Linked DNA regions of Homo sapiens: regions 2, 3, 4, 5, 6 and 7 are each linked to region 1. Evidence: promoter capture Hi-C in 16 types of primary human blood cells and fetal thymus (Javierre and others, 2016). All regions are on one chromosome and are shown on one strand. The core of a region is centred on a gene start or on the middle of the fragment in contact, and the rest is flanking DNA. Distances in the headings are between cores, read along the strand shown. Region 1 holds the start of GMNN (geminin DNA replication inhibitor). Region 2 overlaps KIAA0319. Region 3 has its middle 62 kb from the start of RIPOR2. Region 4 has its middle 42 kb from the start of RIPOR2. Region 5 overlaps KIAA0319. Region 6 overlaps LOC105374981 (a long non-coding RNA gene). Region 7 overlaps KIAA0319.

The links. Contacts are between HindIII fragments. The CHiCAGO score rates a contact against its expected background, and 5 or more counts as called.
Region 2: a fragment that was not itself captured here is called in contact with the fragment with the promoter of GMNN in region 1 in 1 of 17 cell types (naive CD8 T cells); the score reaches 6.2 in naive CD8 T cells.
Region 3: a contact is called between a fragment that was not itself captured here and the fragment with the promoter of GMNN in region 1, in 15 of 17 cell types (neutrophils, naive CD8 T cells, M2 macrophages and 12 more). The highest score is 18.9, in neutrophils.
Region 4: a fragment that was not itself captured here is called in contact with the fragment with the promoter of GMNN in region 1 in 2 of 17 cell types (neutrophils and naive B cells); the score reaches 6.7 in neutrophils.
Region 5: a contact is called between a fragment that was not itself captured here and the fragment with the promoter of GMNN in region 1, in 2 of 17 cell types (neutrophils and naive CD8 T cells). The highest score is 5.6, in neutrophils.
Region 6: a fragment that was not itself captured here is called in contact with the fragment with the promoter of GMNN in region 1 in 1 of 17 cell types (neutrophils); the score reaches 6.4 in neutrophils.
Region 7: a contact is called between a fragment that was not itself captured here and the fragment with the promoter of GMNN in region 1, in 1 of 17 cell types (neutrophils). The highest score is 5.2, in neutrophils.

The regions. Positions count from the first base shown.
Region 1 is chr6:24,772,727-24,776,702 of GRCh38, reverse strand. GMNN (geminin DNA replication inhibitor) reads right to left here and starts at 1,766. Exons shown (of 7, transcript NM_015895.5): 1 at 1,459-1,766. RefSeq lists an enhancer at 772-851. The HindIII fragment of the contact is 2,242 bases long and covers 604-2,845 here.
Region 2 is chr6:24,549,733-24,553,708 of GRCh38, reverse strand. KIAA0319 reads left to right here. Exons shown (of 21, transcript NM_014809.4): 20 at 2,184-2,275. Among named protein-coding and RNA genes, the nearest start is that of ALDH5A1, 57 kb to the right of the region's middle. The HindIII fragment of the contact is 7,406 bases long and covers 1-3,976 here.
Region 3 is chr6:24,996,132-25,000,107 of GRCh38, reverse strand. It overlaps a transcript of RIPOR2 not described here. Among named protein-coding and RNA genes, the nearest start is that of RIPOR2, 62 kb to the right of the region's middle. The HindIII fragment of the contact is 8,245 bases long and covers 1-3,976 here.
Region 4 is chr6:24,975,888-24,979,863 of GRCh38, reverse strand. It overlaps a transcript of RIPOR2 not described here and the pseudogene PPIAP29. Among named protein-coding and RNA genes, the nearest start is that of RIPOR2, 42 kb to the right of the region's middle. The HindIII fragment of the contact is 193 bases long and covers 1,835-2,027 here.
Region 5 is chr6:24,598,342-24,602,317 of GRCh38, reverse strand. It overlaps KIAA0319, which reads left to right. Exons shown (of 21, transcript NM_014809.4): 2 at 1,110-1,269. The coding sequence starts at 1,215. It also overlaps the pseudogene KRT8P43. Among named protein-coding and RNA genes, the nearest start is that of KIAA0319, 46 kb to the left of the region's middle. The HindIII fragment of the contact is 2,210 bases long and covers 1,154-3,363 here.
Region 6 is chr6:24,949,276-24,953,251 of GRCh38, reverse strand. LOC105374981 (a long non-coding RNA gene) reads right to left here. Exons shown (of 3, transcript XR_007059514.1): 3 at 2,761-3,976. It also overlaps a transcript of RIPOR2 not described here. Among named protein-coding and RNA genes, the nearest start is that of RIPOR2, 15 kb to the right of the region's middle. The HindIII fragment of the contact is 4,936 bases long and covers 1-3,976 here.
Region 7 is chr6:24,618,545-24,622,520 of GRCh38, reverse strand. All of the region lies in intron 1 of KIAA0319, which reads left to right. Among named protein-coding and RNA genes, the nearest start is that of KIAA0319, 26 kb to the left of the region's middle. The HindIII fragment of the contact is 441 bases long and covers 1,411-1,851 here.

The DNA.
Region 1 (3,976 bases), core at 517-3,016:
AAAAGGTAGAAAGGGATCTATGTAATGCGGTTGACTAGACCACTGGGCCAAACTCAGCATCTGAACTGCTGCTCCACTGCCCACTGCCCACTGCCCACTACCCATTGGCCCCTGCCGTGTCTGCGCCTGTGCCTCGTCGATAGATGTCCCTAATTTTTGTGGCCATGCCTTTACTCAGTGCAGTGGCTTCTAACATTAATACATTTTACCTTGTGTCCTGGCGCGTGCACACACATGTGCAAACAAAAAAGCTTAGGAAAGGCCGGGCGTGGTGGCTCACATCTGTAATCCCAGCACTTTGGGAGGTCGAGGCAGGCGGATCACCTGCATGATCACCAAAGTGCTGGAAGGTCGAGGCAAGCGGATCACCTGAGGTCAGAAGTTCGAAACCAGCCTGGCCAATATGGTGAAACTCCATCTCTACCAAAAATACAAAAATTAGCCGGACGTGGTGGTGCTCGTCTGTAGTCCCAGCTACTCGGGAGGCTGAGGCAGGAGTATCGCTTGAACCCGACAGGTGGAGGTGGCAGTGAGCCGAGATCCTGCCACTGCACTCCAGCCTGGGCAACAGAGCGAGACTCCGTCTCAAAAAAAAAAAAAGCTTAGAAAACAAAACAATCTAATTTGTGCGGGCATCCTGCTATTTTCTACTCTATTTCATGTTAAGAAAATGGTGTTCGGGCCCCAGTAAACAGACCCTACGCAATGTTCTTCAAACTGCGGGTCGCGGGCCGTGATCTCGAAATTAGTGAGTCATGAGCAACACTGCTTAGAAAAATGCAACTGAACAGAATGGAATTGAAGAGACGAGAAACATTGCTTCCATCACGTCTCATTTGGTTAGATAGCTGTGTCCTAGGTTGCGACGTAAAACGTACCTTAGTGTGAAAAAAGCTGAAAGCCACTTAGCATTCTAATCCTTCACAAGTTTCCCACGCCTGTCAGCGACCTTGCAACCCTTACTTGTTATTCTCCAGTTCCTTTAATAGCTAGATTAAAAACCCTGGCACAGGACAGGGTCCATGCGAAACCCGTATCAACAACGCCAGTATCCGTTTAATGGGAGACGCAGAATTCAGCCACCTCTTTCCATGAGCCAAATTTGCAGATCCCTCAGATCAGGACCAGCCACTTAACTGCCAAGAGGATGGATGCTTCGCCTCATCCCCACAGCTGGCAAGCCCAGGCTGAGTCCCTTACCCGCGTTGCAGTCCCCAAGCCCGGACCCAGCCAACTTGTCCCGGAGGCCCAGCGCCAGGCTAGGGGGCGGGCAGTGTGGCCCCGCGCGTCCGAGCCTACCAACCGCGGCGCGCGCCTCGGGAACTGCGCCAGCCAGCCAATAGGAAGCGCGGAAGTGAGAGCGCGCCAAAACCGACCCAGCCAATGGGGCAGTCCCTCGACTCACCTCCCAACCCCGCCCCGGCTCCCGCGACCGTTCAACAACCCCTTCGCCCTTACCCAGGCCGCGGCCCTGCAGCTGTCAAAGTAGGACGCGGCTTCAGAGGTTGGCCGGAGGGAAAGCGAGTCGTCTAGAGGCTGTGCGCCTTGCGCCCCTGCGTACCCACTTCCTGCCGCCTCTTGCCCACTTACTGGGTGGAGACGCTCAATCCTCGTAGCGAACGCACGTAGCTATGGCTGCAGCACCTCGCAAAAGGCCACAGCTCACCTACGCTGATCCCCACGGTCGCTGGAGTGCCCGGCGCGCTCTGCAGTAAAGCCCTGCTAACTCCGCTCGCCCGCTCCGAACAACCACGTGACCAACTGACGCAGACGAGGGGCGGGGCCTCTGGATCCCGCGAATCGCCTCTTCCCTCGGCCCCGCCCCTTCCTGCGCCTGCGCGGTCAACGGTAGCGAGTACTTGAGGACCGTGGGGGTTTTCTGCGGGCTGGGAGGCCTGTGCCCTTTGACCCTCCCCTCCGACCCTGCTCTTGGAACTTCCTTAAAATGCAAAGTTTTAGCCCTTTACGAAAGGGAGAAAGATTTGCCTCCATTAGTCGTTAGCACCAGAAGAACAAAATATTGTATGTGCATATATATTAATATGTAGTACACGACATATATTTGTGTAAAGCCCTGGCTCCACGGACTCGTAGTTGTATTAGGGGCTTTTATATTTTGGCTTTTTGTGTTTTGACTATGGTGTGGTGCGGTAGGAATTGTTCAGGAGACAACCGATTATCAGTTAATCCTGCAGCTATTCATTGAGCGCCTTATACGTGCCAATTACTACTGTTCTAGGCACTGAAATTACAACTGCTGTTGCAATTTGAAGGAGCAGAAACACCTTGGTAATAATTACGTCTAGCCTTTTCCTTCTTTTTTTTTTTTTTAATTGAAACGGAGTCTCGCTCTGTCACCCAGGCTGGAGTGCAGTGGCGCGATCTCGGCTCACTGCAAGCTCCGCCTCCCGGGTTCAAGCGATTCTCCTGCCTCAGCCTCCCGAGTAGCTGGGACTACAGACAAAGGGAGACCCTGTCTCAAAAAAAAATTAATTTTAAAATATTTTAAAAATAAAAAGCAGAAGGAAGGCGTTATCGAGTACAAATAAGGGACATATTACCAAATGCAATGTATGGATCTCGTCTGAACTAAACACTGTATTTAAAAAAATACCCAAGGGAAATTTGAACACTGACTGAATATTTTGGGATGGTAAGATATGAGTTGTTTAAGGTTACCTGATGAGCAATGGGTTAAAAAAAGAGATTAGTTGTAATGACAATATTGTGGGTTTTATTGTAATAGCTTCTACCTATAAATGGTAATTACAGATGAAATTTTATACCATATATTTTATTTGAAATAATTATTGAGAGAAGCAAGGGAAAAGGTATAAATCAAGCTTTCTCAGTATGGGCTCTATTGACATTTTAGACTGGGCAAATTGTTCGTGGTGGGGGCTGTCCTGGGCATTGTATGCTGTTTAGCAGTATCCCTGGCCTCTACCCTCTAGCTACCAGGAGTACATCCCAATTGTGAAGACCAAAAATGTCTGCAGACCTTGTCAGATAACCTTCCGCAGGGCAAAATCATCCCCAGTTGAGAACCACTGGTGCGAATAAAACAGTATTGGCCTTGTGTTGATAACTGCTGAGGCTAGTATGGATGAGTACATGAAGATTTTTTATTCACTCCCTCTACTTTTATATCTGTTTGGGATTTTCAATAATAATTTTTTTTTTTGAGACGGAGTCTTGCACTGTCACCAGGGCTGGAGTGCAATGGTGCAACCTCGGCTTACTGCAACCTCTGCCCCCCCCGGGTTCAAGCGATTCTCCTGCCTCAGCCTCCCAAGTAGCTGGGATTACAGGTGCCCGCCACCACACCCAGCTAATTTTTTGTAGTTTTAGTAGAGACAGGGTTTCACTATGTTGGCCAGGCTGGTCTTGAACTCCTGATCGTGTGATCTGCCCACCTTGGCCTCCCAAAGTGCTGGGATTACAGGCGTGAACCACTGCACCTGGCCAATAATAAAATTTTTAAAATATTAATTTAAAAAGGATTAAATGATGGGATAAGGAGGTAGAAATACTGGAAAATGTTTAGCCATAAAAATTTCAGCAACCACTAGGCACCATGGCTCATGCCTGTAATCCCAGCACTTTGGGAGGCTGAGGCTGGCGGATCACCCTGAGGTCAGGAGTTCAAGACCAACCTGGCCAACATGGTGAAACCCTGTCTCTACTAAAAATACAAAAATTATCCAGGCATGGTGGCATGCGTCTGTAATCCCAGCTACTCAGGAGGCAGAGGCAGGAGAATAGCTTGAACCCAGGTGGTGGAGGTTGCAGTAAGCCAAGATCACACTACCACAATCTAGCCCAGGTGACAGAGTGAGACTCTATCTCAAAAACAAAACAAAACAAAACAAAACAAAACTTTAGCAACCACAAATATTTACACCAATTTTTTTATTTTTATTTTTATTCAGATGGATAAATAATAATTACATTGCACCAATTTATTTTTTGACAA
Region 2 (3,976 bases), core at 1,020-3,519, 220 kb after region 1:
GATACTAACAGGCTGAGTGGGGAAGCCCAGCAAGGCCTGTCCAGATTCTTCTCAGCCTCTCTGTAAAGCACTCCATTCTCCTCGTAGGAGGCAGAACTCTTTCTGAAATGAGGGTTTTATGACCTATAATCAGACAAAGTAGGTCAGAGAATGTCTTTCTAGCCAGCTCCGAGACAGAAAGGCAGGGGAAGTTTCTTGCTTTGGGGAGAATAAAAAGCAGGTGAAAGAAGGCAGGAGAAGGTCAGAGAGAGAGAGGGAGATTCTGTTTTCTGAGGCCTAAAGTGCCCCAGCATTATAACAAGGGCCGTGGGAGTTATTAGCCAGGAACTGTGATGAAAACATACATACAGATATATATATATATATATGTGCGTGTGTGTGTGTGTGTGTGTGTGTGTGTGTGTGTGTGTGTGTATATATATATATATATATATCTATCTCACAAGTACCTAAGTGGCCTTACAGGTCTCAATAGAGGAAGGAGTTCTGGAAGTATACTGTTACAAATGGTAGGTTTTGATTATTTTCATTATGTAAAGCAATAATCGAATCCACCTGAATCATTTTTAATAAATTTGAAACTGTAAGCGAGGCAATAACACCGCCAAAGAGAACTTTTGCTTTAGGTGTTTCCTTTTTCCATGGAGCTGACCCCTGAGAAGCCTCAAGCTACCTCACTGGCCAAATCTTCCAGAACCCCATGCTCAACCCTCTGTCCTTAGAAGAGAGCATCAGGTCCACTCTTTCATGTGAAACATTGTAACTGCTCTCCAAAGGTGTGATTTTTAAAAAACGTATATTTTAATCTGGGCTAGGTGGCTCATGCCTGTAACCTCAGCACTTTGGGAGGCCAGGGTGGGTGGATCACTTGAGGTCAGGAGTTGGAGACCAGCCTGGCCAACATGGAGAAACCCCACCTCTACTGAAAATACAAAATTAGCTGGGCGTGGTGGTGCATGCCTGTAATCCCAGCTACTTGGGAGGCTGAGGCGGGAGAATCGCTTGAACCCGGGAGGAAGAGGTTGCAGTGAGCTGAGATTGCACCATTGCACTCCAGCCAGGGCAACAAAAGCAAAACTCCATCTCAAAAAAAAGGAGTGTATTTTAATAGTTATTTTTCAGAAATCACTTATAGATTATTTTGGTTTTATTTGTGATTACGTTCCCAAAGTAAGACTGGTGAAAGGGAGCCAGGTGCAGGCACTTAGAGGCCTAAATCCCGTTAAGTTTTCCCAGAGCCATATGTGACCCTACTGTGTATGGCATTAAACATCTGCAGCTTTGTGACATGTCTATCAAGTAGAAGATGATGATGCTAGTAGTGATAACTGTGAACATTTATGAAGTATTTGCCATTGTGATTAATGGCTAAGTGCTTTGTTTGTATTATCTTATTCAGTCCTCTCATCAACCATGTGAGAAAGGGACTATTCTTACTCCCATTTTACAGGTGAGGACATGGAGGCACAAAAGTCTCAATTAATTTTCTCTAAGTCACCAGCTAGCAAGTGCTAAATTGAGACCTATGCTTCTGATCATCATGCTCCCAGAATATTGCTTTTTTACTATGAAATTACTATTTTGTTCTCTGCGTGCCTTGGCATGGTTTGGATGTGTATTTTCAAATAGTCTCTGTACATAGGATGAGGCACATGGGACCAGCATAATTTTCATGTGTTGAGGAAAAAAAAAAAAGAAAAAGGTGGGGAGCAGCTGTTGCTAATTAATTGTGGGAATTTATTATAATTTTTGCTATTTTTTTCTGATTGCTAGTTCATGACACCTTTTCATTACTGCAGCATTGGACATAGCAGGGTGATACAGGTTCAGGGGAACATTTGCTCATCCAGGCTTTTCTGAATAAGGAATTACTCAGGAAGAAGAGCTCCCTGGGCCAACACACAAGTGTTGAGAATTGGCACTGCAGCCTGAGGCTTAGCTGAGACCTGTAGATAGGTGGGCAAGAGTGATGTGGCTGTTTATACCCAGAAATGTGTTTCTCCAAGATGCATAATGGCCCTCTGAGCTCTGACCTGGCCTTGTGTATGTTTCTTTAATAAAAGACGCCAACTATCACATCATAAAGGCAAAATGTTTCCTTTAGTGTCTTTACTGTGCGTTAAATCCTAGCTCTCAGTTACCTTTCTAAAGATCTGAGTTGAGCTTTTCATTGTTCCTTTCAGACAAAAAAGGACTAAAATCAGGAAAAAAACAAAGTACACCATCCTGGATAACATGGATGAACAGGAAAGAATGGAACTGAGGCCCAAATATGGTAAGACAGTCTGCAGAATGACTGCCTGGCACCTTTATATGATTTAACCTAGGTAGGCCTGAGGGCTAACTTGGATAGAGGGAGAACGATTTGCTGGAGTCAGCACTTTAATTGGGAAGGAAGAGTGAGGCTGGGATTCTGTGATGAAAAACAACCTTCAGGCCGGGCCCAGTGGCTCATGCCTGTAATCCTAGCACTTAGGCCAAGGCGCCTGAGCTCAGTAGTTCGAGACCACCCTGGGCAACATGGTGACACCATCTCTACTAAAAAATACAAAAAAAAAAAAAATTAGCCGGGCGTGGTGGTGTGCGCCTGTAGTCCCAGCTATTCGGGAGGCTGAGGCAGAAGAATAGCTTGAGACTGGGAGGTGGAGGTTGCAGTGAGCTGAGATCACACCTCTGCACTACAGCTTGGGCTACAGACTGAGACTCTGTCTCAAGAAAGAAAAAGAAAAATAACCTTCATCAATCCTGAGGATATGCTAATGCGGGGGTGGGGGCAGAAGGCAGTGGGTTCATTATAAATTTAATGAAATTTTGGTGTAATACTTTGAGGCATTAATGGATGAGGGATATGAAATGTTATCAGCTGGGCACCTACCAATGACCACAGGGCAAAGACTGCTTTTTAAACAGAGATGTCCCCAGCACCTGCTTTTTTTTCTACTCGCGGGTGGAGGGTGGGGGCAGTTGAAGACACTCCCACAGCTCAGCTCTGAACGCTGTTCCCTTTAGGTCTGCTAGGACAGAAATGCAGCAAGAGGACATTTGGACTTTAAAGCCTAACATTTTTCAGCAGCTGCGTTATCTAATTAGCCATTGATAAAGATGGACACAAAGGCTTTACAGAAAATTGACTTTCTTCACAAAGTGTATTGATCCCTATGCTTAGGAGCACCTGTTGCCCACCTCGGTTAACTTTTTCATTCTCGTTTATTAACTGTTGCATACTTAATGAAACTTCTCTGGCCCTCTGAGGCTGCTAAACACCGATTCTATAGATTTTCCATAATTCTGGGCTTATGACTAAGATAATTTTTATGGAAGATATAATCTTTTTCAGAGTTGTGAGGTGCAAAACATTGTTCACAGTGAGTGTTGAATGCCTACCTTGTGCACAGGCACCGGGTTAGGCCCTGGAGACTGGGAGAGGAGGAAGCACAGAGCCTGCCTTTACAGGAGCTCACAGCCTGAGGGAGGGTAATTATACTGGAGTGCAAGGAGTTCTATCAGTGCATGGACGATGCCGGGTAGGAACACTCAGGTCAGAATGACTGATCGTGTACAGAGAGTGTAGCTAATAGGGCTTTGGCAGGAAGAGCCTCACAGGAAGAACAAATAGTGGCATACATTGAGTGCTCACCATTTGCATTGCATAATATCAGAAGTATTATAGTGACGTTTACCTAAGAGCTCAACGTGCTTTAGGTTGCATTATCTCACCCATCTTTGTCTTAAAATACACTCATCCTTCTGACATTCCTGTTTCTATTCATAGAACCCCCATTCTCACTGCCCCAGTTTGAAACCTCAGTCGCTGGTGCTCCACACACACCGCCCCCCACTCCAGACACCCGCACTTGCTAGACTCTTGCCCTCTTTCCTCGTCATTACCATCACCACCCCAGTTCAGGTCCTTACAGTTTCACCCGTGAACTAATAGTAATAATAAACAGGTATTTAATGTTGAATATGTACTAGG
Region 3 (3,976 bases), core at 460-2,959, 220 kb before region 1:
GAGAGACCATGGTATTGGGGATATGCAAATGGCCCTGGGTGGCTGGGGCCATGAAGGCAAAAGATGAAGGGTGGCAAGGAATTGGGCAAGGCATACTTGAAGCTAAAAATCTCAGTCAGCTGGCTGACCTTCTCTCACCACCACCTGATACTGATGGGCTCAGAGAGGTCCCCAAACATGGTTGAGACCTCGACTCCAGCTGGTGTCCAGGCTCTTGACACTGTTGCAAGAAGGAATTCAAGGATGAGTCAGGGCTGGGCGCGGTAGCTCATGCCTGTAATCCCAGCACTTTGGGAGGCTGAGGCAGGTGGATCAGGAGGCCAGGAGATCAAGACCATCCAGGCTAACACAGTGAAACCCTGTCTCTACTAAAAATACAAAAAAATTAGCCAGGCGTGGTGGTGGGCGCCTGTAGTCCCAGCTACTTGGGAGGCTGAGGCAGGAGAATGGCGTGAACCCGGGAGGTGGAGCTTGCAGTGAGCCGAGATCATGCCACTGTGCTCCAACCTGGGGAACAGAGCGAGACTCTGTCTCAAAAAAAAAAAAAAAGGATGAGTCAGAAAATAGTGAAAGTACAGAGATTTGTTGCAGAGGGAAAATTACACACTCAAGAGAAGGGAATGTGGTTGTAGACAAGAGTCATGCACAAGGGGGTTTGGGGTTGCTACCTTCATGGGTTTCTTTAACCAAAGCAAGGGGTGGAATATTCACGAAAATTCCTGGGAAAAGGTGGAGATTTCTCAGAATTGTCATGCCGCCCACTTTTCCAGCAAGTATAGATGTTCTTGGAACTGTCATGGCACTGGCAGGTGTGTGATTTGTATGTTAATGAGCATATAATAAGGTCCTAGGTGAAACCTAAGTAGGATCCAGCTCCATGTTGGGTCCAGTCAGTCTCAGTCAGCTTGGTCCACACCTGGTTTTTCAGGGTCTTATCAGCCCATAGCCTCTAGTTATGTGAAACTGCTGCCTGGAATTTTTATTCTCCTGTAACCACCCTGTAAGTTTCCTGTCTCACATCCAAATCAACATCCCCAAGATTCCCTATCAGCCTTCATTTGATCTCCCAGATCAATTAGGAGGAAGGAACACTCTGATTCAGTGCTATGTGGAGTCACCCTGGAGCCTGAGGCAAAAGGAATATGCATCCCTATAGTGTACATTCACCCAAAAATGTTCCTATAGTTTGTGGAAGAAGTCAATACAAGCTCTACAATAAAAAAAAAAAAATGACTGCATATAAAGTTCCACATTGTCCAATCTGTTCCCGTGCCATTGTCAACTCTCATTGACAAGGTCTGTCCTGGCCAACCTTGGGCCGATTGGAATTCCTGTTCCACAATAACCCAGGGTCATAAAACAAATAACAGCAGCCTGTCTTCACCTAATTTTTTGATATTTTGTTTATTGTAGATTTTTTTTGCCCATAGTCTATAGATGAGAAATATATAGGATCCAGGTGGTAAAAAATCATGTGAAAAATGGTAAGCAGTTTGCATTTTGTATAGGGGCAATGGAGAGACGTTGAAAGGCTTTGAACATGGAAACAAAGGAATCAGATTTTCTGGGTTAGAAATATCATTCTAGTTGCAGATTTGAGGGTAGATTTGGGATGCTAGATTTTTTGATAGAAACATCTGTATTTATAGTCACCAAAAATATCCCTTGGGGGATTGCTATTAACTTTATAAAAATGGTTTGCAATATAAAATCCTTGTAAATGAGAAATACATTTGTAAATATGTACTGATTTGTACATATGTCTGATGGTAAATTTGATTATTCACAACTTTTCAAAAACACACTCCTGTGTTTTTGCAAGTGATCATTTTGTTGAGATTCTCAAAGAATTACTTGAGCAAGCTGATGAACACATCATGGAGTATAAATTGCAGAGGAGACCGTTTTCTATCCAAAACACAAGAAAACAAACAGATTGAGGAAGTTAAGGGGAAAAGGAGAAAAAGAGGGGCTTGGCAGTTTAAGAGTGTGGGCTAATTTACATCTGAAAATCCTCTCTCATGCTGTTCTCTGCACCTGGAATACCCTCCCCACCGCCTATTCAATTTCAAGGCCCAAATCAAGCTCTATTCCTAAGACTTTTTTGATTGCTCCAGTGCATCCAATCTCCTTTTCCCCTTTAGTTAGTGGCCCTGAAACCTAAGTGTGAGAATCACCCAAAGGACTTACCGAAGCAAAGTTTTGGTTTCAGTAGGTCTGGAGTGGGGACTGAGGATGTATTTCCAACAAGTTCCCAGATGATGCTGATGCTGCTCACGGGCCACACTTCGGGAATCACTGCTTTAAACCAGTGCGTGTTTCTCAGACTTTAATGTGCATACAGATCACCTGGGGGTCTTGCAAAGGATGCTACACTGAGCTCTATATCAATGGTTTTCAACAAAGGATGACTTTACTCCCAGGGAACATTTGGACATGTTGGACATTTTTGGTTGTTATATACTGTGGCAGTAGGAAGTGAGGAGTGCTTTTGCTTGTTACTGGCATCTAGTGGGTAGGGGCCAGAGATGCTTCAAAACATCCTACAATGCCAAGGACAGCCTCCCACAATCAAGAATTATCTAACCCAAAATACCACTGTTGGGAAACCTTGATTTAAACCATACAATTTAGATACCATCACCATTTGCTATTGCTCATGGAGGCTGTAAGGACTGCAGTTTCCTAAAAGCAAGCACTATGTCTAATATAGAAATTCTGAGGCTCTTCCTCTTTCTGGGCCAAATACTACCTTCCCACCCCACCTCCCCTCCAAATGCCTAACGCAGTGTTTACTACATAGTGAGCATACAGGAAAAGGTTTTTTAAATTAACTACCTAGGAACACTCAAACTAGTGGTTCTCAGGCTTAACTGTATATTAGAATCACCTGGGGAGTTTTTTAAAACACAAATGCCTGCATCCCACCAACAGAGATTCTGATTTCATTGTTGTGTGCTATGGCCTGCATGTTGGGAGTTTTAAAAGCTCTGCAGGTGAGCCCAATGAGCAGACAAGGTTGAAAATCATTGGACTCCATCCTCGCTAGTTAGTAATTCACATTTGAAACTGTGAGATTGAGAAGGAACACTTGTAGCCGCTTCAGCGTATGTATGATTGCCCCTAAGGAAAACCCATTCCAAAACAAGTTAGACCCATAAAATGTCATTAATTTCCAAGTAGTTGTTCTGTACCGCCTGTGAGTTGTCCATTATGCTATGTGCTAGGAATACAAAATTGAAAAGTTTAAGGGCTCTGCCTTCTAGGGACCTCCTAGTGCAATGGAGAAGTTAACTATGAACAATACAGTAAGTGCTATAATAGAAGCCTGTATAAAGTGCCTGAGTCACGCAGAGGAAGTATCACACTAAAGGAAGTGGCTTACTTTTCCCAAGGGCTCAGAAGAATTGGGGAAGGGGTTCTTAGAGAAGCCTCTCACCTGGGTGTTGAAAGTAAACAGTGTTGATTGGAAATGTCAAGTACATCAGCGTGGTTGGACACAGTTGGACTAGCTGGTGTTAAAGGAAGCAGAAACAGTGGTGGGAGGGAAGGGAAAGGGGCAGCACAGGGCTTGAGGGCATAAGGCCATTCATGAAGAGCTGCATGCTCAGGGGTCAGGACTGTATAGACGAGAGGCAGCCAGCGATGGTTAAACAGAGAAGTGATCTGAGGAGGTGAGCTCACTGTGATCCCCACCTCCTCTGCACACTTGAGGGCTGTAATTAAAAGATGCATTCATCAACTCCTGTTGTGCAATAACCCAGGGTCATAAATCAAATAACAGCAGGCTGTCTTTTTCTAATTTTTTTGATCTTTTGTTTATCGTAGATTTTCTGCCCATAGTTCATAGATGAGACCTGAAAAATATGTAGGATCCAGGTGGTGAAAGACCACATGAAAAATGATAAGTAGTTTGCACTTTGTCTAGGGACAATAAGGAAACATTGAAAGACTTTAAGCATGGAAATAAAGGAAT
Region 4 (3,976 bases), core at 682-3,181, 200 kb before region 1:
TTGCAGAGCTAAGAGACTGGTTACTTACAAAGGCAGTAAGTAGTTAAATGGAGATTTGAACCCGGATTTGTCAGTTTTAAAACCTGTGCTTTTAATTGTCATGCTATACCACCAACTTGCTTCCAATAACTCAAACTAGCCTTGAATTTTCCAAATTGAAACTCATCATATGGAAGACAGATGGACCATTTATTTGGCTCTGGGTCCCAACATGGTGTGGAGGAAGTTGTGAGAGCTGGCCTTTCCTTCCCCAGCAAAGCAGAACTGGAGGCTTCCCATTAACATGCATTAATAATTCTTGCCCAGAATTCTGCAAAAGTCTTTTTTAACACCAGATAGTTGGTTACAGTAAAAAGAATGCGATTCAATTCATATTAATTCTATCAGGACCTTTTCAAAATGGGGAGCTTTTTGTGTCAGGTTTGCAGAAGACACATTTCTGATGTGGACTGGGATGACTTGGAAGAGGGTGTGGTCTCTCCCACAGGACAGTTAATGTGCAGTGTTGTGTCTTTTAAAAACAGAAAAGGAATGTCATGTCAGGGCTAAGGAAACAGCAAAAAAAAAAAAAAAAAAAAAAGAATTTCCCTATCATTTCAAGCAACTATTGCATGTTCCTTCTTTGGTTTTCGGTTTTCCCAGGAATAGACCAGTGGGAGTGGAGCAGAGAGGGGATCTTTGCAACCTATAGATAGGATGCACGACAGCTGAGAGAGGAAAGTTAAGCCCATTGTTTCTCATTATCTCATAAGGAGTGATAGAAAATGTTGAGAGGCCAATTATAAAAGGAAGTTGGGGATGAGAAGGAAGTAGTTCATGAAATAGAGAAAATAATGTTAAACCTTTCTCCAAAAATATGTGAGTCTCAGTAGTGTGCACCCCAGGCCTAAGCTAATATATGCAGTAGGTGAGGTTTATATCACTAGCATTCTGTCACGATTTCCATTCTGGGACCTTTTCACATCTTGGCCTGAGGTGTTCACTTGGCTTTGAAATTCTCCCACCAGATGAAGTAGGAATGAATGTTTACTGAGAATTTACATGTTTCATCTATTTAAATCTTATAACAGCCCTATGACAGTGGAACAAAAATTATTCCCATTTTATGAATGAGGACACTAAAGGATAGATTGATTAAATATCCTGCCGAAGGCCTCACAACTAAGTAGAATTTAGGATTCAAACCTAGGCAGTCTTATCGCAGAGCAATATTCCCAACCTCCATTCACCATGAAGCATTAGTGACCAAAAAAAGGATCAAACTTAACCCTAAATAATAACCCTCTGAAGATGGAATTTCAGAGATTGTACCATCTGGTATGAGAAGATACATGGAGGTTAGGGAGAGAAGGGGACATCTTTTCTTGGCCATTTGGTTGAGCCAACTGGCTTTTACATGCAAAGACCTTTGGTATAAATAAGACCCTGATCCTAAAGTAGTTACTTAAAGTGATATATATTTATATACTCATGCGAGCAGTATGGCGGCACAGAGAGGAGTGAATAAACATGCTTGTTTCAGTGAATTCTATAATTTTAAAACTTGAAAGCACTCTCACATTGGAAACGGGGACATTCAGGCTCAGTGAAGTGAAGGGATATGCCTAAAACCGTGCCAGTGGCGACCTTCAGCTTAACAAAAATATTTCTGCAACTCCAATAAGCTGGCCTGAAAAACAAAGCCCGTAGAATGAAAAAGACTCACTCACACTAGATTCATATTTGAGCAATACAGTAGTTTTTAAAGCAGTTCTCACTTTAAAAGGTTTTCTTACTTATTCTTACTTATTCTAATGAGAGATCGAAATCCCACTCTGGCAGTTGCAGGAAAGCTTCAATTCACACAGCTTAACAGACTGAATGCTGCTTTTCCTTCCTTGGCTCATTTCAATATAAACACCTGGCCCTGACTGCCCTTGTGTTATCCCTATATCCGTGGAGTTTTGACTGACATTCAGGCTGGCCACCCAAAATCCTTTGCTGATATCACAGCTTTAGATGAATACATGGAGGTAGGGAGGGAAGCTTCCTCTGCCCTTCAATAAACATTACAACTTTTTTGGAAATTCTGATGACTATAATTCTCAAAACTTTTACATCCTGAATAATTAGGATTTCAAGAGCCAGATGTTTACAGAAACCAACAAAACATCAGGGCAGCCTTTCAACAGGACCATAGCTACCCTCCCATCACTGATGGGCCAGTGACGGGACCTGGCTCTTTTCCTTCCATCGAGATTATTAGCAAAACTAGAAAATGTTTATTACATGATTCTCCTGAGTTTTCTTATATTTGAACAATAAAATATGGAACTACTATGCTTTATTTCAATATTGGAGATAAATATTTGGTCTCCGTTTCCTGTTATGTATCTGATAGAATAGGCTCTTAGATGAAGTTGAAAGTGGCTTGTGTTCTGAATTTCTCTGTTTTAAATTAAACATGTACCTTTATTATGATTTAAAAGGCATACCAAAAAAAGGGAAGGGGGGACACATAGTCCTGTCGACCTTTTAGGACATTCAGAGAAGTTTCAAGCAAAAAAAAAATTGAAAACATTGGTAACCCTACCATGATTTTTGGTATTTTTTTCTATATGTATGGCTTATTTGCCACAAAATTGGTGTCATTCTATATATATGCAGTGAGTTTTTTCTCGTTTCTTTTTGTTGTTGTTGTTATTTAGTTTTTATTTCATAATCATAAACTTAACTCTGCAATCCAGCTAGGCATGGGAGGGAACAAGGAAAACATGGAACCCAAAGGGAACTGCAGCAAGAGCACAAAGATACTGGGATACTGCAAGCAAATGGGGTGGAGGGGTGCTCTCCTGAGCTACAGAAGGAATGATCTGGTGGTTAAGATAAAACACAAGTCAAACTTATTCGAGTTGTCCACAGTCAGCAATGGTGATCTTCTTGCTGGTCTTGCCATTCCTGGACCCAAAGCGCTCCATGGCCTCCACAATATTCATGCCTTCTTTCACTTTGCCAAAGACCACATGCTTGCCATCCAACCACTCAGTCTTGGCAGTGCAGATGAAAAACTGGGAACCATTTGTGTTGGGTCCAGCATTTGCCATGGACAAGATTTCAGGACCTGTATGCTTTAGGATGAAGTTCTCATCTTCAAATTTCTCCCAGTGGTGACTTGCCACCAGTGCCATTATGGCGTGTGAAGTCACCACCCTGACACATAAACCCTGGAATAATTCTGTGAAAGCAGGAACCCTTATAACCAAATCCTTTCTCTCCAGTGCTCAGAGCACGAAAATTTTCTGCTGTCTTTGGGACCTTGTCTGCAAACAGCTCCAATCTGTTAACATAGCTTTATGGATTAGATGAGCAGTCACTTCTTGGTTTCCAGGCCCCTTACCTCAAAGGAGATGCGGCCCAAGGGCTCACCGTCGACGGCAATGTCGAAGAACATGGTGGGGTTGACCATGGCTAATAGCACACGGTTTTCCTCGGCGGCGGCGTCTGCAAAGCCTTTTCTCGTTTCTTAATATCATATTTTCTAGAATAATTTAGTCATTTTTAAAAACACAATTTAAGTGGTTGCACAATATTTCAAGGCATATATACGTTCTAATATATGTAACTATTTCCTTATTGTCATACATTTGGCTGTCGGCAATTTTTGTCATTATAAATAATGCCATAGTGAGTATGTTTGCACATATTCTTTTTCCTTGTTATTTTCTAGATATAAAATTATTCCACCAAAAGGATGAATTTTAAAAATTATCTTAACATGTTACTAATATGACATCCAAAAAGGCTGAACCAGTTAACCTTTCCGCTAGCATTTCTTTAGGTGTTAATAAATTTGACACTTTTCTCTTTTCAAAAATTTTTAACTCTGGCAAAATACACATAAAATTTAGCATGTTGATCATCATTAAGTGTATATAGTTCAATAGTGCTAAAGTATATTCACGTTGTTATACAACCAACCAATCTCTAGAAGTTTGTT
Region 5 (3,976 bases), core at 1,009-3,508, 170 kb after region 1:
GAAATATAGGCTGGGCATGATGGCTCACGCCTGTAATCGTTGAGAGGCCAAGACGGGCAGATCACTTGAGGCCAGGAGTTCGAGACCAGCCTGGCCAACATGGCAAAACCCCGTCTCTACTAAAAATACAAAAATTAGCCGGGTGTGGTAGTGTGCGCCTGTAATCCCACCTACTTGGAGGCTGAGGCACAAGAATCACTTGAACCCAGGAGGCGGAGTTTGCAGTGAGCCAACATTGTGCCACTGCACTGCAACCTGGATGACAGTGCAAGACTCTGTCTCAAAAAAAAAAAAAAAGAAATACAGTAGTGTGATTTATTCCATCATTATTTCATAGTTTTAGCTTTGAGAGCCTGGATATAAAAGCAGACAATGGCCAGATGAAATATAAAATAGAACTTTGACCGACAATCCACAGCCCGGGAAACCAGTCCCTTGTCTACAATAAGCAGCCTAGGAAGCCAGCCTGCTATAAGTCAGACTTGTAGGAAGCCAGATTGCTATCTCTATAAACAATCCTGGAAGCTAAACAGTAACTTCTGTAACAATCAGCCTCGAATGACCAGGACTTGATTAATAACTAATGGCTTCCTTAATTTTTATCCCTTCTTCCAACTTTGGACCAGTCAGAGAAAGCCAAACATGCCTCCTAACCAGTCACGTAGGATGCCCCACTTCTAGCGAGCTGCCTGCAGCTTCCCACTGCAACAGCCTCCAATTAGAGCACACCTGAGGCTTTCTCTTTTTCTGCTATAAAGTTTTCCCACTCCTCTGCCTGTCTTTGAGTCTCTGCCAAAAACAAGTGATGGTGGCTGACTGCCTTTCTATAACAAGCTCTGAATAAATAGCCTTTGCTTTTCTCATTTGACTGGTCCTCGTTTATTTCCACAGCTTGTAAGGAGAGTAAGCATGAAATTCTTTGGCTCTTCTTAGGAACTATACTGGCTATTTGAACAAACGCTCTAGGTGGATGTTTGCCTGGGTTGTGGCTCTGTGATGTGACCAGGACAGGCTTCCCACTGACATGAATGAATGATAGAAATAATTTTGGATGTTTCTACATTTACCTATTCTTTTCTTCCTTCCTCTTTTATGTTTTTCCTTTGAAGTTCTTGAGGCCAAATCTGGCTCCTAAAAAACATCAAAGGAAGCTTGCACCAAACTCTCTTCAGGGCCGCCTCAGAAGCCTGCCATCACCCACTGTGTGGTGCACAATGGCGCCCCCCACAGGTGTGCTCTCTTCATTGCTGCTGCTGGTGACAATTGCAGGTAGGGAACTACTACCCTGGAGATACCCGTGTTGGACTTGAGTTTCTTGACTAGTGTAAGCAACTCAGATCAACCTGAGGTGAAGACGCTGTTGGTTTGCTTTTCAATAGAATTATTTTACAGGTGAAAGCATGAAAGGCAGACCTCATGCATGAGTGGTTTTCCGTAAACAGGAATTTAAGTTTATTTTTATCATGACTATTCCATGGGAAAATAAAATCACATTTCATATATACTAGGAAAACTTTATGTTTATATATTGAAAAGAATTGCATACTAGATCTGGCTGGAAAGGCCAGACTTCCTTTTATCAGAAATCTTTATTTTCATTATACTCAGTTTGCTTATGGTGGATGCACTCATGGCAAAAAAATCACTGGTGAGCATCATTTAAGAAGACCCATGACTAGACTGGGCTGGCCGAGCCCATGTGAGTATACCAAGGATTGAGGGTGGTGATATGACTAGAAAAACTGTTATGTACAGTTTGTCCAAATGTAACACAGCCATAATGAAGATAACCTTAGCGAGACCCTTGTTAAAATGCAGTTTCTCATGCCACACTCCAGACCTCCTAGGGATGTGGCTCTGGGATCTGGGTTTTCAGCAGCACCTGGAGATGATTCAGAAGCACCCAAATTTTGGGCAGCACCATTTTATATGATGTGAGGGCCACTCCAGAAAGTATTGCCATTGGAAAAGCCCATCATGACTTGTAGATCACTTACTCCCCTCCATCCATCCATCTTATTAAACTCATTCCTGCTTAGTGTGTAAGAAAAAATGTCCCCTTATTTCATCTTTAATATACTCTAGAAAATACCTTCATTAATGTTTTAGATGATGTCATTAATGTTTAGAGACCCATATTTTTTCCTTTGCAAATCTCTACTTTTTCATTCCTTTTTGCCCTTTTCTTATGAGGTATTCTCCCTTAATTCAAAATATCAATTCCTGAGTTATTGCATCCCAATAAATGTTATTTGCAATTTGCTCATCTTCCTTTTTTTTTTTTTGGGCAGTTGGCAGAACTAGCTGAGGGTTTATTTTGGAAAAAAACCAATTGAATTGTTTTGTAGCTGGAGGCATGGGCAAAGGGGGATACCCCAGGCAGTGAACTCTCCCGCGGGTCGGCTGAGGGCGAGCGCTGAGCCTCAGGTGGGTCTCCTGTTCCCTATGCTCCCCTGCACAGTGGCCTCCCCCACAGGCTCTGGGGCAGTCACAGGAGGGGGTAGGCTGGGAGGGGCTGCTGTGGCCATTCACTTGGGCAGAACATCAGAGGACTCAGACACCAGTTTCCTATCACAAATCTCGATCTTCTTCACAACCATGGCCCTGAAGGAGTTGGTGCTGCTGAAGGAGCTGGAGCACCCGCCAGAGCCAAAGCTGGAGCCCAGGCTGTAGCTGAGGCCCCCATAGGCTGAGCTCAGCTCACCTGAGTAGCCACTGGTGGTCTTTGTATGGATATTCATGTTCTGCATCCCAGACTCCAGCCAGCTCTCCTCGCCCTCCAGCACCTTCCTGTAGGTGACAATCTCGATGTCCAGGGTTGGCTTGATGATCATCAGCTCCTGGTACTCATGCAGCTGCCATGCCATGTCCTGCATGGCCCACTGCAGGGTGGCCTCCAGCTTGGACAGCTTGGCATTGGCATCCTTAATGGCCAGCTCCCCACGCTTCTCCGCATCCACAATGGTGGCCTCTAGGGAAGCCCTCTAGCCTTTGAGGCCCTCAGTCTCAGTCTGGAGCCGGCTGATGTTCTGATTCATCTCAGAGATCTCCATCTTTGTATAACACAGGTCATCCCTGTGCTTCCCAGCCAGTGCCTGCAGCTCCTCATACTTGACCTGGTACAGGCTGTCAGCCCCGGCCTGGCTACAGTTGGTGATCTCCTTGTACTGGGCCTTGACCTCAGCAATGATGCTGTCCATGTCCAGGGACCAGCTGTTGTCCATGGACAGCACCACAGATGTGTCCCAGATCTGGGACTGCAGCTCCTGGATCTCCTCTTCATACAGCTGCCTGAGGAAGTTGATCTCGTTATTCAGCCCTTCCAGGCGAGACTCCTCCAGCTTTACCTTGTTCATGTAAGCTTCATCCACATCCCTCTTGATGAGGACAAATTCATTCTCCATCGCTAAAATTATTTTTTTACTTTTTATTTTTTTTTTAAATGCAGTCTTCTCACTCTGTCACCCAGGCTGGAGTGCAGGGGCATGATCTCGGCTCACTGCAACCTCTGCCTCCTGGGTTCAAGGAATTCTCCTGCCTCAGCCTCCCGAGTAGCTGGAATTACAGGCACCCACCACTATGCTCAGTTAATTTTTGTATTTTTAGTAGAGACAGGGTTTCACCATGTTGGTCAGGCTGGTCTTGAACTCCTATCCTCAGGTGATCCACCCACCTCGGCCTCCCAAAGTGTTGGGATTACAGATGTGAGCCACCGCACCCACCCTTCTGTAAAATTATTGATCTTGTCCTTGTACTTGTTCTTGAAGTCCTCCACCAGCCCTGGTGTGTTGCCAAACTCGGCCTCCAGCTTCAGCTTTTCCTGGCCCAGCATGTCCAGCTGCTGCCATAGGTTGATGTAGCTCTTGAACATGCAGTCCACATTCATCCAAACTGTCTTCTGCTGCTGCAGGAGGCTCCAGTTGGTCTCCAGCACCTTGTTCTGCTGCTCCAGGAACCATACCTTGTTGATAAAGGA
Region 6 (3,976 bases), core at 620-3,119, 180 kb before region 1:
AAGAGAGTCTCCTGTCTCAGCCTCCCAAGTAGCTGGGATTACAGGCATGCACCACCATGCCTGGCTAATTTTGTATTTTTAGTAGAGACGGGGTTTCTCCATGTTGGTCAGGCTGGTCTTGAACTCCTGACCTCAGGTGATCCGCCCGCTTTGACCTCCCAAAGTGCTGGGATTACAGGCATGAGCCACCACACCCAGCCATAACCTTCATTATTAATACTTCCTTACTCCAAATACAGCCACACTGGGGATTAGGACTTCTATATATGAAATTCGGGGAGACACATACATTCAGTGCATAACAGGTTCTCACTGTGCTTCCCACTAATTCTATGCCCAGCACTTTCCCCTACTGCGTTATCACATTAACTATATGGCTACTCCTTATTTACATGTGTATGTTATTCTTTCTAGATTTAAAAAAGACTTTTGTAAAGCAAACAGCATACATTGTTTCTTTCTGTCTAGTGGTGTGCTGGAGTCAGCACATACCTGCTTATGAGAGCCAGTTGTTAGTTTCAGAAATGTTGTGAGCTGTTTGTTAAAACAGCCATGATTTAAAATTAAATTATATAAGTGTGCAATTAAATAAATTACATTTAAAACAATGCTAATAAATACTCAATACTCATCAGCTCCTCATTACTACCTTTTATTATTATCTGTGCACTGGAGGTTATTTACATCGATTGTATCTGGTTGGTGGAAATGGTGTGCTACTGTGCATCTCTTCCCAACTTTGCTTCAATGATGTTGCATTAGTAGCTTGAAATTAGTCATGGTGGGAGTATTAGCACTATGAAAATCCATAAGCACTGCAAATCAGCTCCCTTACCTCAGAGCTAGTTATTTAGTTTTTACCAGCATACTACTCGCAGTCTATATCCCCAGCAGCCAACATGACAGGATCCCCAGTAAATGCTGTCTGACTGGCTGGATGAATGGATGGATGATAGGAAAGAATAATAGAGAGAGAGCAGTAGAGATTAGGTGACAGGAATAACAGCTGGCAGAGGATGTTGGCTAGGTGGGGCATTTACTATTCTGCGCTTTACCTTGCAGCCTACCCAGCCAACAACCTCAGTTGTTCTATTTCCTTCTTTGTGGGTTTCTCATGTTGTGTTCTTACACATTGTGCAAAAGAGTGCAATATAGTACAGAAAAAATGTGGTCATCCTATGTTGCTCCATCGCATTTCAAAAGAGGTATAAATTTTACATTCTGGTTCATTCCACTGGAGACAGTGGTGTGGCAATGTCCACTGCAGAATACAGGAAGCCCCACATTTACAATTCACTACATATTTACGACTACTGTGGATCCAGCGGAAGGTAAGCAGGGTGGGGTCCTGTTGTGGCAAGGTAGTCTTTACCACAAGTTCCGTTCTCATATGCCCTCATCCCAGTGTGTAGAAAGAAAGGAGAACTAAATATTGCTGCCAAAGCTGATTATTCTGTGAATTAGGGACCAGTGAAAAAATCCTACCCAGAAAATGCCAGAAGCAAGGTCTGGATTTCTTTTTCTCACCAAACCTTTAAAAACTCCGCCCCACCAACCATGACATTTCCTTTGTACCAGTTTTTAATGTTCCTATGAAGTGCCTTACACAGTTTTCTTTTAGCGCATGTAAACAGGAGAGAAACTGGGAAAAACAACTAGAGTAGCAGAAGCGTGAGGCAAAGGAACTGGAAAGAAAGTGATGGAGAAACATTTATTGTTATAAGCACAGTTGCTTCGGAATTCTCTTTAAGCTGCTTTTGAAGGGATCCTTTTACGGAAGTCTTATCTTTGTCAACAAAATTTGAAGACCCCCTATTCCATTAGTTGGCAGACAACACCATGCAAAGACAGCGATTCGACTGCAAAACTCATGAATGAGCTGATTAATTTACGTGAGAAAATGTCTATTTGCCCCTCTCTTACAAAAAACCTGGGGGCTGCAGCACTTAGAAGACAACACAAGTTCTCCTGAGCATAAAAACCATAATCAGGCTCTGTGTAATGGTAGTTCCTCTGCCTAATATTGGGAGGTAGAGCAAAGGTCACTGTAGGGCAGAGTGTTCCGATCACCCTGACACCTGTGACCTGGTGACCACCCACTACTCTCTCAGGTGTCATTCTACCACTTCCATGTTGATATGAACTTCTAAAGTCTCTGATCGCTCTTGCCTAGAGAACTTCTGGAAATCAATGAAGTCATTGATTTTTAAAATGTCTGGAACATTGATTTCTATCAGGCCTCACGCAAAGATCTTGGCTGACCTTTGTCTTCTAGGATGTCGCAGTCTAGCAGGGCATGCTGCCTTCAAAACTGACACACAAGACCTAGATCCTGTGGCTGCAAGTCTAATGCCTGGACTGTGTTCTATGGTACTGCAGAGGTCAGCAGAGAAAATAAAAGATTTGAGAAATCAGCACTAAAGCAGCAAACCCTATGCACCCAACCCCATCCACCTCGCCTGTTAGATAGCTGCACTTTAGGCTTGTTTAAATGAATATATTTTCTTTTTGTTCAGATGGAACAGTTCAGTCATCCCTGTAAGAACTTTCTGGCATAGGTTTCCACAGGTTTGACTCACTGGCTCTTCAAAAGTGTTTTGGCTTGCTCCGGTGACCCTGCCATGTTTCATGTCCCCTACTGCCCATTCACTTAGATTCCTTGTCCTTAATCTCTGCATCAGTAAAGTGAGGACAGACACACTGAGCTCCCTTTTACTTCGTAAGGAAAACAGAAGGATAAGCCACACATACTCCCAAGTATCTTAGGGAAAATGTGCCTTTATTGTCATTAATATTGTCATCATAAAGTAAACCATGAGATTACAGGATTGTGCAAGAGTGAATGCAGAGCCCAAATTTTTCCAAGGGTGAATAAAGGATGGTTGAATAGGAGGGAGGGAGGGAGGAAGAAAAGAGAAAGAATCTTGCATTTAAGACAAGCATTGCCAACTTTCTGCCTTCACAGAGTGATCTGGCCCAAGCAAGTACTTGACAGGATTATTATTATCAGATAATACCTATAATCAGCAATACCATATTACTTTTGCATAAAGTTTTTACTAGAAACCATCCAATGAAACACTACTAGGTGCTCTTCCAGGAACATTTGATACTCAGCACCTTGGTTCATAGCAGCACCGGGCATTTATACTACCCTGTAAATAGCAACAACTGAACTACATGGATGCAACAGGCAGCTGGTTGCATTTGCAACGTTTTTGACACTAGGTCATCTCTAGGATGAGCAGTGAATATAGTGAGAGAGTGGAGCCACCCCTTCCCCGCTCTGCTTCCTCCACCTCACTCACTCACAATACTTAACAACTCTCCTATTTGGTACTTTGTTAAAACTTTGGATGAAATTTCATAAGAAAATAATTCACCCAGAATTCTAACATTTCTCCAGGGGCTGCCCCTTCCAGGTGGTGGGCTATAGCACCCAGGGGCTTTCCCTGAGGGACAAGGAGCTAGGCCCTGGTGAACTCTTGCTAACCAGCTTCAGATCTCTGAGGGGCCACTTCTTCACCTCAGGGTGGCTAGTGAGCCCTGCGCCCCATTGCCACCATGGGTTTCCATGATATTAGAAGATGGGAATATAATATTTATACTGTTTTTGGCATTTGCCAAGTCCCCACTGGAAAAAGCAAGCTGGCATACCTTTATTTACTCCTGCCCATTTTCTCCAAGGTTGCTTAGAGTCCCCAGAAAGCTGGCCCAACCTACCTATTTCACGAAACCTGACCCTAAAGATGTCCTGAAAAGCCCTGAGACCCTTCACGTGCAGAGGCTGAGAGGGCAATCTAATGACTCTACTGCTGAATTTGCAAGGATACGGGTTTATAACCGTTGGTAAGGTGAGAAGTCTCTAAAATCTGCTGTAAAAACACCTTTTAAAGGCTTCAACCTCGTGATACTTTCATGAGGTTTGAGTTCTGGGTTTTGCTTCTTGTTTTTTGGAGAGCTGGCGGCTTTCTGC
Region 7 (3,976 bases), core at 382-2,881, 150 kb after region 1:
TGTTCTCTGATTTTTGCCCCTCATTTGTAGCAGCCTATTTTTGTTTTATGGAGGCAATATCCTTTCAAATTTTTCCAAAGATACTAATTACTATTTTAATTATTGATATTAATTGTGGTTTAAAGTTTTTCTTTGTTCCTTTAATCTTCTATTTGTTTATCATAGCCTTTCTTTTTCATGTTCTTTTTTTTTTTTTTTTTTAATTTCTCAAATGTCTAGCAGTCCTTGGTTGCCTGTTCCTTTTGATCTGTGAGGGGCTCCACTGATCAGGATACTTGGCTGCTTTCTGACGTAGCTGTCCACTCATTGATTCATGTGAGGCTTGCTGTGGCATCTGAGTGCATGAGTGGGAGGTGTCTGGTCAGGTTTCCCTCTGGGGTGTACGGGTGAGCACTCCCCAGGCAGCCACTGGAAGGAGAGCTCTGCCTAGAGGTGTGGTGCTTCAGAATAAAGTAGATTTCATTCCAGGGCAGAGCTGTGCATTCGCAGACTCTGTTGACTCTCCTTTTCTCCCAGGCCCAGTGCTGCCACCAGGGCCCCATGGAGGTAGATCTCCGTCTCTTGAGAGAGCAGTTCTCTGGCTTTAGCTTGAGATCTGTTTTTCGTTTGGTGATCACCCCAACGATTGTGCCTTGGCCGGTTCTGTCTCTTTGCATCCATTGGCTCAGGGCTTGGAGCTTCTCCAGTGCTGTCACCAAAAGTGCTGTTCTTCCTTTTTCTAGGAAATGAGTTTCCTCTCTTCCTTTCCAGTCAGAGCCATGCCATCTGCTTTCTATCTTCCAGGAATTCTTTGAAATGATTGGTCTATTAATGATGTCCATTCTTATTTTCCTGTGTTGTTATGGTTTATTTTCTTTTGTCTGTTCTTATGTCCTGTTTGCCTCCCCTCACAGTTTTTCCCCCCAGTAAGACCATGCACAGGAAAGAGGAGAGCTGGATATACATCTATCTGCCATATTGAACTAGAAAGTTTTCTTTTTTATTTTGAGCTTTCCAAGATTTTCTTAATGATGCCAATTTCCTCCCAGATAGATTAATATGAATATATTTTTTGTGTGGGCTGTGTCTCTGGATGTCCCCTGGAATAATGGTGGTTCTTGTCTCCATGATCTGCCTCTTTAGAGAGCTCAATTCTCTTTTTAATGAACACTTGGGGGCTTGGTCTGTTGCTGCAACACCCTGCTTCTCTCAAGCTTCAATAATAAAGTGAGTGTGTTAAGGAACTATGAGTAGAGAACCATAAGATACTCGCCCATCTCCCAAATATCTCCCATACCATCATCTGTCAAAGGTACCTGAAATACCTTTTTGTCTTCAGGAATCTCCAGATGAAAATGCTAACGTCCTAAGAAAGAATAAGACCTTGAGGCTTAAATAAGTAATATCAGCCAACACCTTCATTTGGAAGCTTGGGTTTGTGGAAACATAATGGAAGGGAGATGATGGGAGGATGAGCAGGATGTGACAGGGACTCCCTAAAAGGGAAGTAGGTGTGACTGTATGCTTCTCAGTTTTCTTCCATGCCCACCCTGGCTGATACCACATAGTTTCTGTTTCTTATTTTGAATTGGCAGTAGGAAGTCAGCTGCATTCCTAGGCATACGCATAGGTGCTATTATAGAATGAATGTTTGTGTCTCCCAAAATTCATATGTTAAAAGCTCCAACCCCTGTGACTATATTTGGAGGTAAAGACTTTATTGGAGGTAATTAAATTTAAATGAGGTCATAAGGGTGGGGCCTTTATCCAATAGAATTAGCATACTCCCTTCAAGCCTCCAGAGCTTTGAGAAAATAAATTCCGTTATTTAAGCCACCGACTCTATAGTACTTTTTTCTTTTTATGGAAGCTTGAGCAGACTAATACAGTTGTCTTTAGGGAAAGATTGAAGATAGAAAAAAAGCAAAAACACAAGTATGGGGCCGGGAGCAGTGGCTTATGCCTGTAATCCCAGCATTTTGGGAGGCCGGGGCAGGCAAATCACCTGAGGTCAGGAGTTCAAGACCAGCCTGGCCAACATGGTGAAACCCCGTCTCTACTAAAAATATAAAAATTAGCCGGACGTGGTGGTGTATACCTGTAATCTCAGCTAGTTGGGAGGCTGAGGCAGAAGAATTGCATGAATCCAGGAGGTGGAGGTTGCAGTGAGCTGAGATCATGCCACTGCACTTCAGCCTGGGCGACAGAGTGAGACTCCGTCTCAAAAAACAAAAACACAACTAGGGATAGTCAGCATTTCCTTTTTTTATATATAAAAATTGAAGAGGCCTCATGTTTGGGATCTTCTTAGCTAAGATTAAAACCAAGTTCTGGAGTGCCACAGTCCAGGTGACAAAAATGATTTTTAAAAAAATTTGTGAAGCAGTTTTGCATACTTTTTTCATGTCTGAATATCAAGTTCAGGAAGCTTGACTCCACTACTCCCGACCAATATTGGCAAAATATATTGAAAATAAATTGCTAACTTATTTTCAGTAGCATATTATTGACCAAGGAAACACAAAACAGGATTTTAGGCCAATTAATCCAGCAGTGTTAGAATGAACAGCGAATGGGATCCATGTGATTGTCATTTCAGATGGTCGGCACTTTTTAGTCAGGCTGGAACTATATTTGGTTTGCTCTGGCTGAAGCAGCGAGGGAATTGCTATAGTGTGATTTGCACGCCTGCTGCAGCAAAATATGGCACTCTCAAGATCAGAAGGCACTGTTTTATTTTAAGTTTCTCCCCCTTGCACCTTAAGGTCTCTCTGCAGATGCATGTGACTAGGTGAGACATATTCATGGAATATTTTGAAAATAGGCCATTTCCCCCCTCGTGCATTTTCACTCTTTCTACTCAAGTTCATCCCTCAAGCATGAACATTCCTTTTCCATTGTCACTCACTCTCTTGGTGGTGTTAACCAGTCTTGTGGCTTTGAATACCAGCTACACAATGATGCCTCCCAGTGTATGTCTCCAGCCCTCTCTCCCATGAACCCTGGACGTATTTATCCTGTGGCCTATTCAGCAGCTCCACTTAGATATCTCTTGCATTTGGAGAATGACAACCCCATTCTTCCAGTTGCTCAGAGTCATCTAGGACTCTTGTTTTTGTGTCACACCTTACATCTTATCCATCAGCAAATCCTATATGCTCTACCTTAAAATAAATCAAGGCTCTGACTCCTCAGGGCCTTCACTACTATCACCTTGGTGCAAGACACCGTCCTCTCACCTGGATTATTGCCGAAGCTGCTAACTTGTCTCTCCATTTCTGCCTTTGATTGCTATACTCTCTTTTCAACGCAGAAGCCCGAGGGAGCTAATCCTGAAACATTTCCAGTTTCATGGTGAAAGCCAAAGATCCTTCATACTAACCTATAATACAGCCTCCCATTGTCCCCCACCCTGACCTTCTAGTGCTTTCCCTTTTCTAGCGATGCTGACCCTCTTGCTGTTCCTGCAATACACAGGCACATTCCCCGCCTCAAGCCTTTGTGTTTCTTTTTCCCTCTGCCTGGGAACTCTTTCCTCTCAGCTGTCCACATGATTCACTCCCTCATCTCTCCTAAGTCTTTGCTCAAATGTGACCTTCTAAGTTCAAAAATTCTCTCTTCAGCAGTGTCTAATCTGCTATTTAGCCCATCCATTGAGCTTTTAATAGCAAAAATCTTTTTGTTTTTAGAAGTTGTGCTTGGTTATTTTTCAAATCTGCCAGGATCTTTTTTTTTCTTTTAGTCTTGTACCTTGCTACTACTTTTTTTTTTTAAACATTTCATTTTATATTTATATGCCAGAATTCCATTATCTGAAATCTTTGGGACCTAATACTCTTGTCTTTCTTTTCTGTTGCTTTTCTTTGTGTTGCCTGTGTGTTTTGTACTTTTTGTGTGTTTTTGTTGTTGTTGTTGTTTGGGGGTGTTTTGTTCTTTTGAGACAGGGTCTTGCTCTGTTGCCCAGGCTGGAGTGCAGTGGTGTGATCATGGCTCATTG